Regions from separate parts of the Homo sapiens genome. Here all the other regions are linked to region 1. The links are contacts of gene promoters, found by promoter capture Hi-C in blood cells and fetal thymus (Javierre and others, 2016). All regions are on one chromosome and are shown on one strand. Each heading gives the region's core, a stretch centred on a gene start or on the middle of the fragment in contact. The rest is flanking DNA. Distances are from core to core; before and after follow the strand shown.

Evidence for each region. The method cuts DNA at HindIII sites, captures the fragments that hold promoters and counts their contacts. A CHiCAGO score of 5 or more calls a contact.
Region 2: a fragment that was not itself captured here is called in contact with the fragment with the promoter of SNRPB2 in region 1 in 4 of 17 cell types (naive CD8 T cells, naive CD4 T cells, non-activated CD4 T cells and 1 more); the score reaches 8.4 in naive CD8 T cells.
Region 3: a contact is called between a fragment that was not itself captured here and the fragment with the promoter of SNRPB2 in region 1, in 2 of 17 cell types (activated CD4 T cells and total CD4 T cells). The highest score is 7.6, in activated CD4 T cells.

Annotation. Positions count from the first base shown.
Region 1 is chr20:16,728,008-16,732,633 of GRCh38, reverse strand. It overlaps SNRPB2 (small nuclear ribonucleoprotein polypeptide B2), which reads right to left and starts at 2,608. Exons shown (of 7, transcript NM_003092.5): 1 at 2,470-2,608; 2 at 868-966; 3 at 298-470. The coding sequence starts at 931. RefSeq lists a silencer at 2,151-2,200 and enhancers at 2,351-2,470, 2,521-2,570, 2,629-3,497. The HindIII fragment of the contact is 9,448 bases long and covers 1-2,871 here.
Region 2 is chr20:18,277,343-18,281,968 of GRCh38, reverse strand. It overlaps LOC124904876 (a long non-coding RNA gene), which reads right to left. Exons shown (of 3, transcript XR_007067544.1): 3 at 1,898-2,162. Among named protein-coding and RNA genes, the nearest start is that of ZNF133, 8.9 kb to the left of the region's middle. The HindIII fragment of the contact is 1,498 bases long and covers 1,234-2,731 here.
Region 3 is chr20:17,956,814-17,961,439 of GRCh38, reverse strand. SNX5 (sorting nexin 5) reads left to right here. Exons shown (of 13, transcript NM_014426.4): 2 at 4,403-4,507. Among named protein-coding and RNA genes, the nearest start is that of SNORD17, 3.8 kb to the left of the region's middle. RefSeq lists an enhancer at 9-178. The HindIII fragment of the contact is 1,208 bases long and covers 1,521-2,728 here.

The sequences.
Region 1 (4,626 bases), core at 1,359-3,858:
GTTTCTTTTCAAGTCTTCCAGGATATTATTAATTTCTAACTTTTTGAGATAAGACTATTGCCTAGACTGCCATTATTTTTTAAAATATTCTACATCTCAATGTATTTTGTTTTTGCCCATCTGAACTGTCATAAATTAAACTCTACCACTACTGTTTTTCTATAAAAATACATAAACCCAAACACACATAATTAAAAGCAGAAAGCAATAGCCACAGTTTCAAGCATATTTACAAATCTACTGTCCCATCAATATCATTAATTTCTTGATTAAAGTGAAATAATGGAATTGGCTTACCATTGGTTTACCATAAAATGGAAATCCTTGTAGCTGTCTCAAGGCATTTGTGGATGAGCCCAGTTCCTTAAATATGACAAAGGCCTGCCCCCTCATCTTCATGGTCTTTAAAGCCACAATGTCCACCACATGACCAAACTGAGAAAACAGGGCATATAGGGATCTCTTCAATTCTGTCCAAATTAGAAAAGAAACAAGTTATTGGTAATAAAGTAATGACAAAAGTCTTCATAAAATGATACTGCATTGAGTTGCCCCCCCCACCATTCACTTATTTATACAGTTATATATTTTAATATTTATAAAAACATATACTATTCCCATTGGCTATATGTAATTTTAAAAGTTATATGAAACCATTATATCTATGAGTAGAAACAGACTGTACACACTGTCAGTTCCTACCTATTTTTGTTTTTTAAAAGCCTTCAAATCCCTATAGGAAATGGGATAAACCATTATTTCAGGCACTAAGATGATGAGGTAAGAGGTTTTGAGGCAGTACAATTTTTAAGACAGTAGTAAATAAACACATTTTAGTAGTGAACAAGTATTCTAAAAAGCACTTACCTTCCTTTTTAATTTTGTCATTCATATTGTTGATATAAATTGTATGATTTGGTCTGATATCCATGTTTGTGTTAAATTCTTCAGGAGACAGTAAAAAATCTGTTATAAAAAGGAAGGAGTAAATTATACTGGACTGTGGCATAAGGACACAACACAAGAATTATTAACTTTTCATTTCTCTTTCAATCCCAGTTGTCAGAAAATGTCAGTTTGGCTGTAGCCTTTATTGTATCTCCAGCACCTACTAGCCCTCCTTTTCATACAGAAGAAGAACAGTTTCTCACATTCAAAACTTGGAGCACCAATACCTAGCCAGATTTTAGTAACACCATTTAATTCAACACATTTATTTTTACACTTACGTTTCACTTATGACACGTGACATTTTCTTTCCACCTCCTCAATGAAATAATTTTAAAATGTAGATTTGAAGAAAAATGACCAAAGTAGCAAATGTACATCCAGTAAAAATCATAAGGTTAGACATTAATGAAGTTTGCCAACTACTTAATGGGTGCACTTACAAAGTCCTTCCATACCTATTAATTTGTATACAGCATCACCAAGCTGTCTGGACTCCAAGGTTATCTCTAACCGACTTGAAAGAAAGGAGCTCAATGACAGCAGTGTGGCATGACGATTAAACTCAGATTCCAGTATCAGCCAGATGTGAATTCAAATCCTATTTATGCTTCTTACTAGCTGTTTGCCTGAGGGAAGTTCCTTAACCTCTCAGGTCCTCATCAGTAAAATAAGAATGGTAACAGAACCTACCCAATAGAACTCAGAAGACTAAATGAATTCTAGCACAGTTCTGCATCAGCGGTAAACACTTAAGAGTAGCTATTATTAACAGCTATTACCAGGTAAGGAACTTGCCTAAGGTCACACAGCTAATAAGCATCAGGCCTGGAAATTCAGCCCTTGCTTTCTCCTCTACACTTGTCTTCCTCATATACCACACTATTGCATTTTTTACATGGTTTTTACTTGCAAATTGTGAACTTGGATGATTTCCTTGTGTGCCCCACATATTCCTTTATCTCACAGTATTTACAGAGCATCCACTGTATGTGAACTGCATTGGATGATTGACAAGGGAAGAGCCTACAAGCAGGGGCTGCACTTGTGCAGGTAACAGGTAAAACGTAACGCTTCTCAAAGCCTTGCGACCCCCTAAATCGAAATCTGGAGAAGGGGCAGGGGTCGCAAAGGAGACGACGAAAGGGAAGTGACTGAGGCAGAGGTCAAAGTGAAGGTAGGGGGACAAAGGGGAGGCTCTTGCAGGGTTTCATGCGAGGTTTGATCGTGGGCTGCGTTGTTACAGGGACACCCTGAATTACCCGCCACCACCAAAAGGGAGCCGCTGGAAGACACCTGAAAGCGCAGTGAACTGTCCACGCCTCGCACGAGCAGACTGACATTAACTATCCTTTACTTCGTACGCGCAAGCCTCCCGCCTCTCCAGACACAAGCACCTTCGCCCAAGGCCCCCTAACGAAGTCCAAGGGAGCTGCCACGCGATGCCCGGCCCCAGAGTCAGTCTCCTCACCCCCAAGCCTGCCCCTCCGAGATCCAAACCCGGGCCAAACGCGTACCCACCCCAGCTTCGCGCTTCGTCCGCTCCCAGCTGCAACAGGGGAGAAAAGGGCCGAGGAGCCAGGAAAACCGAAACAGCGAGGTAGAAGGCGCACGAACCCACCTAAGGCCTACGCCGACTACTGTAAGAACCAAAAGCAGGAAACGGAGCCAGGCACCGGAAGCAACGTAGCCACGCTCCTCAATCGAGCGCCGACAAGTCTAGAAGCCGAGCACAGAGCCGATCGATGCTTCCGGGTCTCTGGCAGCCAGGGCTGGCAATCTCTCTGCGCGTGCGTCTGCCCTGCGGGCAGGAGAAGAGTCCGGAAATGGAAATGGGGAAAGAGAAGGGGGTTGTGAGGACCATGCTGCGAGGGAATAGTGAAGGGGAGTGAATCATTTCCCCTACCACGACCTTGCGAAGCTTTACCCGGCGCAACAGTGCCTTCCACCTTTACAAATCCTATGTAATTTTACAGGCGCTGCCCCTCATGCTATGGGGCAGTTAGTCCTGGTTTCGCCCTTCTTTGGGCTCTAGCTACCCCGGTTTAAAATCACCTTTAGGATAGCCAGTTCCTCCTGCCTCCGAGTCTCCTCTGATTCATGGGGCTCTGCAGGAACTGTCCTCCAACACTGTGCTGATGAACTTGAATCTCAGAGGCTACTCAGTTTGAGGGCCCAGGGCAGACAGAACTGGTGTCTGCCCAATTCTCATCTCTCACCAGATAAGGCAACCATGCTGACTAGAACCCAGTCATCTGTAAGATCATCTGCCTCAATTCACTCGAAAAAATAATTCCCTACCACCCTTCCCACTCTTTTCTTCCAACAAAAGGTCTAGATTTTTCTAGGGTATTCTAAGGAGTTAGTATTTATGCCAAGCTGAATGGGAGTTCCCAAAGTGCATGCATTCATTCATCCATCCATTCATCAGATGTCTGTAAAGCATCACCTGGAATATGAAATGGTTGTTAAGAGTCAACTGGAACCTAATCTTGTACCCTCTGCTTAACTAATCTCTCTGACCTTCACTTTTTTCATCTGTAAAATAGGGATCCTAATAGTACCTCCTTCTAGTTGTTGTAAGCATTAAATGAGCTAAAATAAATGTAAAGTGATTGGCACATTGTCAGACACAATAAATGCTCAAAAATGTTATTTCTGAATTCTGGCTATAACTTGGTTCTACTGGTGAGGCAGGTAGCTGTCAAATAAGTTGGTTTTATCAGCTGGGAATTTTTATTTTTTAAAAACACCCAAAGTTGCAACAACTTGAAAATAATATAAGCTTTTTAAGGGTGGGGTTTTTGTCTGCTCTGTTCACTCAAGTACCCTTAGTAATGGGAAAAGTGACTGATAATTAATATGCATTGGATAATTCAATGAATGACATGGAAAACTAGGCAACAGTAAAACAAATATGCTTTGAACATGCACCTGAGTGTAGAGAATGTTAAGGGATCACAGAAAAGCATCGTTTTATTATATAGATCTAAAACTAGAAGAAATGGCTGAGTGTAGTAGCTCACACCTGTAATCCTAGCATTTGGGGAGGCTGAGACAGGAGGACTGGTTGAGTCCAGGAGTTCAAAATCATCCTGGGCAACATAGTGAGATCTCATCTCTAAAATAAATAAACCAATGAGAAGAAATGTCCTATCTCAGTCAAAGAATTATATCTTTAACAAATTAAAAGAGAATATAAACTTAATATAAACAATTTCTAAATAACAAAGGACAAGCTGTTTTGCATATTACTATGAGCATCTCAGCAATTAGTTCTGTTTGATAATAATGAGGATGGCTACACTACTGAGAATAAACTATACTCTGTATTGTATAAGGGGATCTAGCCAAGAGTTGATAACTGTTAAAAGAGAATAAGATGTGATTATACAAAAACACTCCAACCTGGGAAGAAAATACCACAAGAAACACAGAGGCCTGAAGACAGACTGCATGTTGTGTTCTATTAACAATTAAATTACAGCTATTGTACATTACACTGTGAGAAGGAAATCATCCATTGCCAACTCAGCCGCAATGGTCTGCATGCACTTTTCCAGGTTCTTCTAAAAAGAGCCAGTGCATTTTCCTGTCCTTGGGCAGTCACTCTGGGCATTCCAATAACCCGTTAATGATTCTCAGTGGTTTCCTGAACGATTTGAGAAGCCAGTTATT
Region 2 (4,626 bases), core at 733-3,232, 1.5 Mb before region 1:
CTCCTCCAATGTATGTTCCATTTCACCTTGTTCCTGGCAGCTTCTCACAAGCTCTATTGCAGTTTTTTTTTTTGTTTTTTTGTTTTGTTTTGTTTTGTTTGAGACAGAGTTTTGCTCTTATTGACCAGGCTGGAGTGCAATGGCACAATCTCGGCTCACTGCAACCTCTGCCACCCAGGTTCAAGCAATTCTCCTGCCTCAGCCTCCCGAGTAGCTGGGATTACAGGCACCTACCACCATGCCTGGCTAATTTTTTTGTGTGTTTTTAGTAGAGACAGAGTTTCACCATGTTGGCCAGGCTGGTCTCAAACTCCTGACCTCAGGTGATTGACCCAGCTCAGCCTCCCAAAGTGCTGGGATTACAGGTGTGAGCCACCGCACCCGGCTGCTCTATTGCACTTTTTTTTTTTTACTGATAGCGTGATTTACCTGTTTAAAGAAACATGCCTTTGGGTAGTTTATTTTTATATTTAAATATATTTTTATTTTTATATATTGAAATGGTTATTTTTTTAATTTAGAAAGAAATACTTTTTTGTAAATTTTAAACCTTTTATTTGAAAATAATTTCAAACGTAACAAAGTTGCAGGTGCAGTACATGTAACACTGATGCAGTACTTTTAATAACCTATCATCGGTATTCTAATTTGACAATTGACTTGATAATGTGTTTTATAACTTTTTTTTTTTTTTGCGTTCTAGTATGGGATCCAGCCTAGGATTAGGTTTAGTTGTCATGATTCTAGTATCCTTTAACCTGGAATATTTTTCTTAGGGTTTGTTTTTCTGTCTTTTAAGAACAGGGTCCTCCTTTTTGGTAGCTGAATGTTTTATTTGGGGGTTGTGTGAGGGATATCACATTTGGTAGTGCCTGATTTCTGCCTTGTACAGTTACTATTTTTTTCGTTTCTAAGACCATCTCTGAGGAGACAATTTAAGACTGTGCATCCATTAATGATTCTTGCCTAGACTAGTTTTTACCCTAATAGTTACAAAGCTGTAATTTCCAATGCCAACACTCCCTCCATATTTTCCAGTCAGCACTAGGCATTCAGGTAGGATGCTATTTTATGAAAGAAAATACAGTATTCAGGTAGCAGTGAGAGAAGGACAGGCAAATCACTGATCCTAGTGTCACCAGAGCTATTCAGAGGTGCAGAGAGCTGTGAGAGCTTGGAGAAGGGAATATGGGGTGCAGAGTGGCAGAAGGCAAGGTTGGGGCTACATAAGCTTCCTCACCTGCCTGGCCAAGGTGTCTTGACTCGATTTTGCATGTGGCTGAGCTTATAAAATCATAACAACACAAAACCTACCAGCTGAGAAAAGAAACCTTATCAATTTTTAAAAATTTAAATATGGTAGTTCCCCTCCCCTGCCATCCATGGGGGGTTACATTCAAGACTGGTTGCCTGAAACCTTGGATAGTACCAAATCCCACATACTGTACATATGTTTTTTGCTATACAAAAAAACTGAAGATATGGTTTAATTTATAAATTAGGCACAGTAAGAGATTCATAACTAATAATAAAGTAGAACAACTATAACAATATACTGTAACAAAAGTTGCGTGGATGTGGTCTCCCGAAATATCTTATCGTACTGTACTCGCCTATTTTCAGACCGTGGTTGCCCCTGGGTAACTGAAACCTCAGAAAGTGGAACTGTGAATAAGGAGGACTACAGTGCTGCATCCACGTGTCCATATATTTAGTATTTTTAGAATAGATTGTCCATAAGTTAATTTTTTTTACCATATTCATAATTGAGGAAGTCTGAGCATTGCGTTAATATTTTTTAATGACAATAAAACCAGTAGCACTGAGGGCAGATCCTAAAGAATGAAGAAATTAAGGGCAATAAGGAAGACGAAGAGAGTCAGGGATGACTTGTAGCTCTGGTAAAGACAAGAGAGCTTTATTATCAGTGGCAACAGGGAGCCATTAGAAAACCATCTAATGTAGACCAGAGCTTCTCAAACTTCAGTATTCTGGGGATCTTGTTGTGATGCAGATTCTGATTCAGAGGCCCTGAGCTTTCTAGTAAGGAGGATGCTCCTGCCCCAGGACAATGTTTGGAGATGTTGGTCCTCAGAATGTACATTGTAAGTGACAGGTCAGGTGTGGATAAAGCAGACCAAGACAGCAGCTGAAGTTTTGTCCTAGAAATGGGTTGACATGATACCTCAGTCTTGATGAAATGAAATAGCCATCATTTAGTGATTCCTTTGGGAATTTGTCCTCCAGTAGTTCTGTTAGGGCCCAAAGATCCAGGTCTGCCTCAGTCTCAGGCACAGGCTACTATTTTTGAAGTTCTTTTCAGGAGCCAGATACTGTGCTTTAGTCACATCACCTCACTGAGCCCTCCAGACAGCCAAATGGAGATGACTTCCTTTTTACGGACAGGACATGGAAGCTCTGTGTTAGTGAGTACGTTGCCTAAGGTCATGCAGCCAGTAAGTTGCAGAACTCAAATCTGAACCCTTCTGACTCAGAAACTCTGCTCTTACCACATCTTAATTAAGTGCCCACCACAAACACATGGCTCATGAAATGAATGCCTCATGCTCCCTGCCCTCCAGCAGCACAGAGTCTAAAGGGAAGGATGTGTCACAGGTAATTACCATCCAGCCATGTTGGTGGAGAAGAGTACCACCAAGGTATTAGCTTTCCACTCTGCAGCCTTCTTTGGTTAGAACTGTTAAAAATGTCCTTTTACAAAGCAGAAGCTTGAACATTGAATAAGTTGGCATAACATGTTTAAAGGTAATAAATGATTACATCTACCTTAATTGTTTTCATTCCAACATATCGTGACAATTTTCTAATATAAAAGTTGAGAGAATGGCCGGGCGTGGTGGCTCACGCCTGTAATCCTAGCACTTTGGGAGGCTGAGGCGGGTGGATCACAAGTTCAGGAGTTCAAGACTAGCCTGGCCAAAATGGTGAAACCCTGTCTCTACTAAATATACAAAAATTAGCCATGCGTGGTGGTGGGCGCCTGTAATCCCAGTTACTCGCGAGGCTGAGGCAGGAGAATCGCTTGAACCCGGGAGGCGGAGGTTGCAGTGAGCCAATATCGTGCCACTGCACTCCAGCCTGGGTGACAGAGTGAGACTCTGTCTCAAAAAAAAAAAAAAAAAAAAAAAGTTGAGAGAATCATACAGTGAATATCCAGATGCCCGCCATAGTTATTTTTTACTATATATCTTTTGTTATATTTTCTGTCATCCCTCTATCCATCCATCAGTTCATCCACTTTTTTGATGCATTTCAAAGTTGCAGACATCAGTTCACCCCTAAATCGTTCAGCATACATGTCATTAGAGTTCAGTATTTGTCAATGGTTTTTTTTTTTAAATTTAAAACATACAACAAAATGCACAGATCTTAAGTGTACTATTCGATGAATCTTGACAAATGCAGACACCCATAAAACCCAAACCCTTCTCGAGATGAGAATATCCCCGCCATTCTGGAAGGTTTCCTCATGCCCCTTCCCAGTCAAACTCAATTCTGTTGCCTCAAAGGCAGTCACCAAATTAGTGATTCCTGTTCTAGAACATCACATAAATGGAATTAGCTTTTTTTTTTCTTTTCCTTTTAGAAGCCTGTGGTCTTAGCAAAGAGTTGCAAACATTCAACACATCCTTATTAGGCTCCAGCTATCTATCTGTAAGAATTTGTTTATAGGATATGTTTGTTTTAGTGGAGTAGCAAGAAGGCTTGAAGGACTGCCAAGGACACACCCTTCATACAAAGGCACCCACATCAACGCACTAGATGAGAGAGCATCACAATCCCATGTAAGGGCAGAGTAAGCCCCCCACCCCAGGCTGGGAGATTAATGGGTTACAGCAGTTGGCCCCAACCTAGGGATCTTTGGCTTCCAGGTATCCCCAGAATTACCTTTGAACTCCACTATTATTTTTAGTATTTCAAAATATCAAATTGAAATGATACATTAATCTTGCATAGGGCTGCACAGACTAACAAAAGTACTTTTTTTCTTTCTACTGTTGATTGTTATTGTAGAATTATAATAGCGAACATCTCTGGCATATTTATAATGTATCAATCACTGTTTCAAGCATTTCACATTTTAAATTTCATTTGATAATATCAGTAGCGTAACGTCTCATACATGGTCATTGTTTCTGTACTTTTTTAAATGAGAAAATGCATTTTTACTCTAAAAGTGTGGCTTGCTTGGTAGACTAAAAACCTTCAAATATGAGGCCTGTGGAGAAAAATAATGAAAGGAATGGCTGGACTAAATAGAGGCAAGTCGGCTGGGCGCAGTGGCTCACGCCTGTAATCTCAGCACTTTGGGAGGCCAAGGCGGGCGGATCACAAGGTCAAGAGATCGAGATCATCCTGGCCAACATGGTGAAACCCTGTCTCTATTAAAAGTATAAAAATTAGCTGGGCCTGGTGGCGGGTGCCTGTAGTCCCAGCTACTCGGGAGGCTGAGGCAGGAGAATGGCTTGAACCCGGGAGGCTGAGGTTGCAGTGAGCTGAGATCATGCCATTGCACTCCAGCCTGGGTGACAGAGCAAGACGCCGTCTCAAAAAAAAAAAAAAAAAAAAAAAAAAATAGAGGCAAGTCTCTCTTTGATTCTTAAG
Region 3 (4,626 bases), core at 875-3,374, 1.2 Mb before region 1:
TTTTCATTTTGGCACTGAGTCTGCAGTCACCATAACCACTTAGAAAAAACTGTATTTTTTCTGTTCTCCTGGTGGGTTCTGAGTTTTAGAATCTTGCCTTTTGTGTTGTTCAGTCATCCAGGTGCCCTTTGCCCTCTGTAAGCCATTAAACCTTTTGAAGAGGCAGCTTTGCTGGTAGAGTCGTAAGTGAAATTTGGACCAAAAGTGAGTTTATGAAGACTGGTGGGCAGGAGCTCAACAGCTGCAGGGTTGTCCTGCAGCCAGTGTCTGATGTGCCCCAGCTGGGAAGCTGATGAATAGGTGAGGAAATGCACAGGGATTCCGTAACTACTTTTCTCCTTTTAGGGAAGTGCCTTGGCTCTCTTACCAAAAGCACTGCGATTTTTTAAAACAGTTGAAAATGTGCTTTCCAAATGAAGCCGTGCTTGTTTACCGTGAAGGCTGATTATAATCCGTATTGTAAGGATTGACCTGGTAGGGAAGTACATCATGAACTGAAACTTTACCTAAAACTTTGGATACGTGATCCAGTAGTTTCAAGGGAAATCTACAAAAGTCAGGTTTTTAAAAATTTTTTAAAAATTCTGAAATAGAGATGAGGTCTCACCGTTTTGCTCAGGCTGGGTTGTTGGGTTTGTTTTTTATGTGTAGTTTTTTTTTTTTTTTTTGGAGACTCGCTCTGTTGCCCAGGCTGAAGTGCAGTGGTGCGATCTTGGCTCACTGCAACCTCCTCCTCCCGAGTTCAAGCAGTTCTTCTGCCTCAGCCTCCTGAGTAGCTGGGATTACAGGCGCACGCCACCATGCCAGGCTAATTTGTGTGTGTTTTTTTGTTTGTTTGTTTTTTTAAGACGGAGTTTCGCTCTCATCGCCCAGGCTGGAGTGCAGTCGCGTGATGTCGGCTCACTGCAACCTCTGCCTCCTGGGTTCAAGCGATTCTCCTACCTCAGCCTCCTGAGTAGCTGGGATTACAGATGTGCGCCACCATGCCCAGCTAATTTTTGTATTTTTGGTAGAGACGGGGTTTCACCGTGTTGGCCAAGATGTTCTCGATCTCCTGACCTTGTGATCTAGCTGCCTCCACCTCCCAAAGTGCTGGGATTACAGGCGTGAGCCACCGTGCCTGGCCACTTTTTGTATTTTTAGTAGAGACGGGGTTTCACCATGTTGGTCAGGCTGGTCTCGATCTCCTGACCTCAAGTGATCTGCCTACCTTGGCATCCCAAATTGCTGGGATTGCAGGCGTGAGCCACCACACCCAGCCAGAAGTCAGTTTTAAAACTTAAATTATTTGAGAGTAGGTATATTTTCAATTTGATTCTTACAAGTGACCTAAGGGATCTGGAAAAGAGGTAAAACTTTGCATGGTAAAGGTCCGGCATGCCCAAGGCTGGACTTGGTTCTAAAGCCTGCTTTGTTAACTGTTGTAAACGGCCACTGTAAGCATTGTAACATCTGTGGCCTAAGTCAGAGACTCAAGTGTTGGCCAGCAGGGCTAAGGAGTACTCTGAGCCCTTCAAGCTTAAGGGGGGATGGAGGCAGAGGCAAGTGAGAGGGGAAGAGTGGAGCCTGGCAATTATTTAGCAAGTTCTGTAGCACTGTGGAGTGGGTTTGTTGACTAAGCAGAAGGAATGCTGAACTTTTGGTCACACTTGATGCTTCCCGAGTGAGAGTACAAATGCTGACTTAGAAGCTCTAGTCATTTCACAAGTTTCTACCCATGTTTGTCTCATCTGGAGGGTTATATGCTATAATATGAGAAAGTTCATTTAACTTGCGCCTGGGGGACATTGAGTTAATGATGGCCTGGATGCTGAGGGGTTTTGCCAATACTCTCTTTTAGACAGTTCTTTAAGGCCCAAATACAACATTGCATTATTTGCTTATTTGGTGGTTAGGACTGTCATGTCAAGTGATTGGAGTTTTGCTTGAATCCCTTCCTAGGGCGAAATGTCTGGGCAAAATGGCTGCTAGTGAACCTCGGATGTTTGATATGCTGTGGTTGCAGTCACTCATAACCTAGTGGTTTTCTTCTTTTTGTCTTCATCACATTCTGAAACAAAAAATATGTTTCTATACTAACCAGAAAGGAAGACAGGTATAGTCGGGGGTATTACCTCTACATGGGGAAAGGGACGAAAAGAGAAGATAATTATTCAGAGGAACGAAAAGCAGCTAAAGCAGCTGGTAGCATCCATTGCAGCTTTAACTGTGGTGCACAAATGAGCTCCATTTACTTGATTACATCCCCCTTGGGTCCTCCTATTCGAATTCCAAGGGTATCCCATGTGGAGTTCACAGGCTCACTGAGTTTGCTGGGCTTGTGAGCGAAAATGGAACTGTCAGCATATTCATTTGAGCAGTGCTAGAAGTCAGGGTTTGTGACTTTAGGAAATGGAATCTTAGGAAATGTGGCAGTTTTTGAGCTCTGGGAAAGGCACCTTAGACCTGTCCTGTGAGCTGTCCTATGTCTCCTCCAGAGACCATGGCTACTTCTTAGGCCTGGCTCTGTTTATTCCTGTTCTTGGGCCTGCCTGACCTTGACAGATAAGCCTAAGATCAGTAGAGTCGTTGGTATAGCCTCTGCAATCACATCTCAGTTAATGATTTGAGGTATTTTTAAAGGCTGTATTTGCCAGTGTTAACTTAGCAGAAGGAAGGAAGCTCTTATCAGAAAATACGCCAAAGCTGGAGTCAGTTATGATCAAATGAAGTCGCAGACCTTGAAGCTTTATCTTTGTTTGCAGAGATCTCACAAATGGACATGTGAAAATTAAGCCAGACAAGCAGATATTTCATAGGAGTTATCAAGAATTCATGTGGAAGAAAAATACTTAGGTTGAGATGTGAGGACTCAAAAGTATCTGTTTTGATCTTACTAATAGTTGATGTTAAAATCAACTTCTGGTGACTACTTGAGCTTAATTTTTTGGAGGAAAGCCATTGTAATAGGCTCCCTCTGGCTTTCAGAATTATAAATATACAGTGCTTAAGGAAAAAGGGAGTACTTGAAACTTAAGTAATCCATGTGCTTTTAGTGAATATATTTAGTCTTTTTATAGCTGATTGACCAGATTTTCAAGTTTTAGAGGTTAAGTACATAAGTTTTTAGTCTTGAACTTTTTATTTTGAAGAAAGGGACCCAAAGGGAAATTTGGAGTGAAATACCTCATCTTCTTAATTGTAATCTTCACTTGGCATTCCGTGCTTTGGGTAATCCAGTGTTATGACAACTTTACTTTAGCACTCCTTACAGTAAAAGGAATGGGGCAATGAGATGCTTACGCTATGAGTTCCTCGTGCCTTGTGTGTCAGGTTTTCAGATTGACCACCACCTTGTCTGCTTTAATGTACTTTTATTTAAGTCACTTTTCCCTAATAGCCCAGTTCCTATTAGTGCTGCCACTGTTCTCTCCTCTCTTTTTTTTTTTTTTTTTTTTGACGGGCAGAAATGGAGTTAGGTAGTTTTTTTCCTCTCAATTTCCAGCTCAGAAAATCAGTTAATTGAGTATTCAGAGTGATGCTCACACTTGTTGCTCATGTGTAACCACAGTGGGATTGTGCTAATTAAGTAAGGCCTTGGTTGGTTTTTCTAATTCACCCCTCCTGTCTAGATTCCTTGGCTATTTGAAACAGTCCCAGGTTTACTCTGAACTCTCCACCCAGGATCCTATTCCACATGACTGTTCTCTGTGCCATCTCCCCAGGTTTTCCTTTCAGATATTTGTGTGGCCTGGTTAATGCCTCTTGAATGTTCATTGTACTTTGGCATTTATGTAAGAATTCAAGATTTTGTTCTATTTAGTTCAGGCCTTAGTGTACAGTCAGGTATTTGGCCAAATGTATTGTACATGACATTATTGTAGCTGTTGTTTACATTACAGGAATACTTCGGATATACCAATGCATGTGAAGAATGGGTTTCCCCTCAGTTTCACATAAACTTAGAAATGTCTCAACTGACATTTCTTTTTCTTTTTTTTAATTTTTAATTCTTTTTTTTTTTTTTTGAGACAGTTTCGCTCTGTCGCCCAGGCTAGAGTGCAGTGGTGTGATCTCAGCTCACTGCAAGCTCCGCCTCCAGTGTTCAGGCCATTCTCCTGCCTCAGCCTCCCAAGTAGCTGGGACTACAGGTGCCCGCCACCACGCTTAGCTAATTTTTTGTATTTTTAGTAGAGACGGGGTTTCACCATGTTAGCCAGGATGGTCTCCATCTCCTGACCCTGTGAACCACCCGCCTTGGCCTCCCAAAGTGCTGGGATTACAGGGGTGAGCCGCCGCGCCCAGCTCAACTGACATTTCTAAATGATCTATGTATAAACTGCTTTTTAGTAACTACTCATTTTTGGAATAATTTTTTAGGGCCAAATGAGTTTGAAACTAATACGCAAAAAATGTATTTCAGCTGAGATCTGTATCTGTGGACCTGAATGTTGATCCCTCGCTTCAGATTGACATACCTGATGCGCTCAGTGAGAGAGACAAAGTCAAATTTACAGTGCACACAAAGGTAAGTAACATGCAGTGGTAATACATACAGTGCTAGGTTGCAGCCTTGTTATTCACAGTGGATGTGAGAAGAGATTCCCTGAGCTTGAAACAGTTGCTATTCGTAGGGTAGCACTATTA